2 separate regions of the Homo sapiens genome follow, and region 1 is linked to region 2. Evidence: promoter capture Hi-C in 16 types of primary human blood cells and fetal thymus (Javierre and others, 2016). All regions are on one chromosome and are shown on one strand. Each heading gives the region's core, a stretch centred on a gene start or on the middle of the fragment in contact. The rest is flanking DNA. Distances are from core to core; before and after follow the strand shown. Region 1 has its middle 20 kb from the start of RIIAD1. Region 2 holds the start of THEM5 (thioesterase superfamily member 5).

The links. The method cuts DNA at HindIII sites, captures the fragments that hold promoters and counts their contacts. A CHiCAGO score of 5 or more calls a contact.
Region 1: a fragment that was not itself captured here is called in contact with the fragment with the promoter of THEM5 in region 2 in 2 of 17 cell types (M2 macrophages and M1 macrophages); the score reaches 5.8 in M2 macrophages.

Annotation. Positions count from the first base shown.
Region 1 is chr1:151,739,809-151,742,508 of GRCh38, forward strand. No RefSeq gene overlaps it. Among named protein-coding and RNA genes, the nearest start is that of RIIAD1, 20 kb to the left of the region's middle. The HindIII fragment of the contact is 1,762 bases long and covers 435-2,196 here.
Region 2 is chr1:151,852,265-151,855,045 of GRCh38, forward strand. THEM5 (thioesterase superfamily member 5) reads right to left here and starts at 1,448. Exons shown (of 6, transcript NM_182578.4): 1 at 1,179-1,448; 2 at 1-195. The coding sequence starts at 1,301. The HindIII fragment of the contact is 9,012 bases long and covers 1-2,781 here.

The sequences.
Region 1 (2,700 bases), core at 66-2,565, 110 kb before region 2:
TGGGCTTCCTCCAGGAGTTACCCTTAAGTGAAAATTCATTCAAGATTATGCCCCCTCCTAAGACAGTCTGCATCTACTGGTCAATGTGGAAGTATATTCCCCTGCATGATTCTGATTTCCTTGTCTCAGTGGGGGACAACTCTGCAGGGCCACAACAGTTCCTGAGTTCCTGCTGTCCAGTTCTAAGGCCTTCACTTTCTCCCAGTGTTGTTGATCCTGAGAGCACGACTCAATGAACTGCTTTTACTCAAATCTCCATCTGAGAGTATATTTCCCGAGGAACCCAGCCTGACAGTCAGTGCCAAGAGTGCTGAGGAAGCAGATTCTAAAATGAGATTCTAAACTGGAAATACCTGTTGGCCGCTGGCAGGGAGGGCCACTGGCAGTAGGTGGAGCATGGAGATTCCCCAGCAAGGTATCAGTGCAACTGTCAAAGCTTTCACTAGTGCTGAACTGGGATGGGATCCTGGGGGAAAGCAATGCTTAGTGGGGGAAATATATCAGGTCTGATAAATATATCAGGTTTTATAAAGACAATGGAATTGGATGGCTAGCTGGAGGCAATCAATGCATTGGACAAAGGCAATGAAAGGTTGAGGGTGATTGATCACCAAATAAAGGCTAAGAGTGAAAGCCCAAGGCCCTCCTTAGCAATTTAAAAGACATTTTTTATCTTTTGTATCTAGAGGCCCCCCAAAATTGAGAATAAGGTCCAATATTTAATTGTAACAGTAGCAGGGCTCCAAAGAAGGTTGAATTCTTAACACTGGCAAGAAGGAGTGAGACCCTGAGACATAGGAGTGGGGGCAGCTGGGTTAATGCTTTAAAAAATCTTGAATTTTTAAATTCTCCATCTTTTGGGCCTGCAAAAGTGCCCACTTGTTCCTGGTAAAGGCTATCACTACTTCCTTGCTTAAGGATGATAGAGAAGCCTCTGGCTTGCAAGACCACACAGGTTCCCTTCAAAACCTACCCCACCTCCTCTCCTGATCTGCAAACCAATAACTAGGATTAAGTACTTTTAGAACTCAGCTAAGATTCCCCTAAGAGAAAAAATGCACCATGCCCTGGAGGTTCAAGAGGACCTAACTAGCAAATACAGGTTGGAGATGTATGGGACTGGATTCTGAGGGTGTTGGATCAAGGAGGGTGGGACATAAAGTTTGATAAGGGAGAGTGTATGGATATGGGAGCCCATTCTTTTTTTTTTTTTTAAGACAGAGTGTCACTCTTGTTGCCCAGGCTGGAGTGCAGTGGTGTGATCTCAGCTCACTGAAAACTCCACCTTCCGGTTTCAAGCGATTCTCCTGCTTCAACCTCCTGAGTAGCTGGGATTACAGGCACATGCCTGCCATCATGCCCGGCTAATTTTTGTATTTTTAGTAAAGATGGGGTTTCACCGTGTTGGCCAGGCTGGTCTCAAACTCCTGACCTTGCGATCCGCCCCGCCTCAGCCTCCCAAAGTGCTGGGATTACAGGCATGAGCCACTGCGCCTGGCCTATGGGAGCCCATTCTTAGGATATGGGATTTAGTACTCTGACAAAGACCCTAAGAGATGTTGCTAACATTCTGATAGTGTAACTGAGTACCCCATTTTCCAAGAGATAGTTTATTTTTTTCTCTCTTTTTCTCTTTTCTGCTTTTCCCCTATAACTGCATTTAGAAATGCAGTTATAGCCTTTTACCTCCTCTTCACCAGACACTCCCTACAGGGCAAGTTCATCTAACTGTGTGTTTAGAAGTCCCAGAGCAGAACTCTCACCCAAGCAGGAGGTTACCTGAAGAGACAACCTACAAGTCCATCTACAAGCCAATGTATGCCTGCTATGAGACTCTCTCACCTGGAGAGTTTTTGGCTGCTTTGGCAACCTAGTCCTGCCCATGAAGGTGCCAGTAGTCACCAGCTCGGCCACCCAGTAGACAAGGCACCAAAGCGAGTATGCAGGCACCCCAGCTGCCTGCTTCTTCCCCTGCATGCCATTCATGTCAGCATGCCAGGTCCCCTTTTAAAAGCACCTGTTTTCTGCTCCAAGAGTGAAGTGGTACCCTAAAAGCCGGAGGCTATACCTTCTTCCCCTAAGCTAGCTTTGGAATAAAAAGTCGCTTTCTTTATACCAGACCTTGCTTTTGTTAATTGGACTCTGTAAGCAGCAAGCAACTGAACCTGTTTTGGTTACAGTGGGATGGCTCTGGGAAGCTTGGAGAAAGTCATGGCCCACATTAAGTGAAGTAGGCGTGTGAGGAGTGCTGTGGCATATAGTGGAAGAGGTGTTAAATGGCTCAAAAGAGTGGGCCTGCTAGGCCGGGTGTGGTGGCTCATGCCTGTAATCCCAGCACTTTGGGAGGCTGAGGTAGGAGGACTGCTTGAGCCCAGGAGTTCAAGCACAGCCTGGGCAACATAATAAGACCCCATCTCTATTTAAAAAAGAAAGAGTGGGTATGCTAGAATTAATATGTAAAGTCAGAAAACTCACCAAATGCTTATGTTTCATCAGACATCCCAAAGAATATTCACTTTCTTTAAAAGGCTCAAAAGAGTGGGCATGCGAGGCTGGGCGTGGAAAGAATACTCAATTTCTTGAAGTGATGAAGAATGTGCTGGTAAGAGAAGCTCAGGGTTGGCTGTTCTCTGTAGGCCAGGGCTGACATAGGGTATACGGTCACAGAGCTGGGCTTACTAGTAGCAGAGGGACAATAGG
Region 2 (2,781 bases), core at 198-2,697:
AACTGCCAGTCCAGATGGGAGCTTGAGTCCCCGGATGTGGTCTCTGTTGGACTTGAAGGAGGGCAGCTTGATCCAGCCGCTAGACTTAGTCTTCTCCAGAAATTCTTGGTACAGGCTCAGCATGTCCGAACACCAGCTGGCATTGGGAAGAGCATAATCCTTCAAGTCTGTCTTCTCTGGCAAGAATCTTGAGAACTGGGCAGGAAAAATCAGAATGACTAGACAGCATCCTGGAGGGGGGCTGCTGCCTGGGCTCGGGACCTCTAAACAGCTGTTCCTGGGTGCTGGGGCTTCTCAATCCCTTCTGCCAGAGTATCGATCCAAGGGAAAGGGCCCATATTCCTTGCAGGGGGGCTGCGGACCCCTATGGGTGACGGGGCATAAGGATGCTAAAGAGCAAGGGAAGGGCGGGCAGGGAGTGGGGCCAGAGATGATGGGCATGCTGCTCGATGTGGTGCCTTACCCTTGTTCTGCTTAAAACATGTGAGCAGTTCTTTAAAGTTGACAACTGCTCATATTAGCCTCACTGTACAGATGGGGAAACTGAGGGAATACGGCCAAGGTTGCCAAGCATGTGACTGTGAGAGCTGGTGGTCGCACTAGATGCTGTCTCCTCTGCAGGGCAGGGTCACAGTTGTTGAGGACCATTCTAGCAACCCCCACCTCAGGGGCTACTCCAGCTCTGCCCACTGCTGTGGGCCTGCCTGGGCAGGGTGGCTCCTTTGAAACACATTTGGGCCCCCACAGAGGTGTGGTGCCATGGCTGGGGCACAGACTATGTGCCCATCTGTGTGACGTAAGGAAGTCCTCTGTAGCGTCACCTGCTCATACACCAGTCACAACTGTAGACAGCATGTGAGCTGCTTGCCAATGCCACAGATGGGGTCCTCTGTCTGGGGATACCCCAGCTTTGCTGCAGTAGTCTGAGTCCCACAGGAGGAAAGTCATTTGTTGGTGGCCACACAAGACACAGAGCCAGATGCAGGTCTCCTGGTAGTTTTAGTTTTGAATGGGGGCAACTTGGTATCCCAGAGCACTTTCTCTTTGCCAAATCAAATAGCTCCTCCGAACACTGCCCACCTGCCCTGGCCATGGGCTGGGAAGAGGAGATTTGGGGTGCTCCTTAAGCCCTAGGCTCCTGGGAAAACACTGCCCATCTGGCTGAGCTGGGAACTCACCATGGAGTCTGTGGAGGATCCAAATGCTGAGGCAGGGTTGAGTCTGGGCAGGATACGGGGGGCCTCAAGAAGGCCTCTGTGGTGGCCAAGTCTTGCTGCCACCTGGAAGCATCTCCTTATCATGGCCAAGTGCAAGGATCCAGCCCTGCTTGGATGGAGGGTCTTGGCTGACTCCCAAGGAGTGCTTTCAGCTGCACTTGGGGCCGCTTCTCTCCCTTCTGTTGCAGGCTTTCTTTCAGAGAGCTAGGCGAGGCTGGGCTGGTGTGCTGCAACACCCACAGATGCTCGGCGCCTTTAGCTGGTCTAGGAGCCCCACCCAGTGCTTGGGGAGGGACAGATGCTGCTTGGGCATGAAAAGGCAGCAGGACTGGCTTGAGTTGCAAAAGGAGTAAACAAGTACATAAACAAATAGTATGGGGTATATAGAGCCTTGGAGAGCTGCCTGGGGGTTCTGAGGGAGAATCCAAGAATATTTCCAGAAGGATAAGGGAAGCCTGTCCCTTGATTGGAGGGTGCTGGTGGAGTGTTCTTGGTATGTGCTCTGCAGTGTATACCGGACTCTGAAAACTCTGGTATGATTTTGTGACTCAGAAAACCAACTCACAGGCCGGGTGCGGTGGCTCACGCCTGTAATCCCAGCACTTTGGGAGGCCGAGGCGGCGGATTACGAGGTTAGGAGATCGAGACCATCCTGGCTAACACGGTGAAACCCCGTCTCTACTAAAAAAAATACAAAAAATTAGCCGGGCGTGGTGGCGGGTGCCGGTAGTCCCAGCTACGCAGGGGGCTGAGGCAGGAGAATGGCGTGAACCTGGGAGGTGGAGCTTGCAGTGAGCTGAGATCTAGCCACCGCACTCCAGCCTGGGCGACTGAGCGAGACTCCGTCTCAAAAAAATAAAAATAAAAAAATAAAAAAAAAGAAAACCAACTCACAGCCTTAGACACCTCTTTTTTTTTTTTTTTTTTTTTTTTGGTGAGACGGAGTTTCAATCTTGTCGCCCAGGCTGGTGTGCAATGGCGTGATCTCGGCTCACTGCAACCTCCGCCTCCTGGGTTCAAGTGATTCTCCTGCCTCAGCCTCCTGAGTAGCTGGGATTACAGACACACACCACCACACCCAGCTAAATTTTGTATATTTTTTTTAGTAGAGATGGGGTTTTGCCATGTTAGCCAGGCTGGTCTTGAACTCCTGACCTCAGGTGACCTCCCAAAGTGCTGGGATTACAGGCGTGAGCCACCGCACCCGGCCAACACCTCTTCTTATATCCCGGACAAGGGTTAGCACAGGAGAGTTTCACCTGCTGGTCTCTGGCTGGGGATAGGAGTTGGAGGTGGGGGAGGGCTTGACAGGGAGGGCAGAAAATAATTTGGGAGGAAACAGCTTGGCAGGGATACTCTCATGTTTTGGGAACCCCGTGCCCAGGGAGTGGCTCATGTCAGCAGGCAGTGCTGGGAGTGAGGTGGGCGCGGCAGTGAGGCTTTGTTGAGTGGGAAGGGACACTCAGCCAACATCTGCAAGGCAGTGGGATTTGGTGGTGGTGTGTCTTCTATTGAATTTAAACTGCCAATTTTCAATTAAAAGTCTCAGTTTTAAATTGACTAA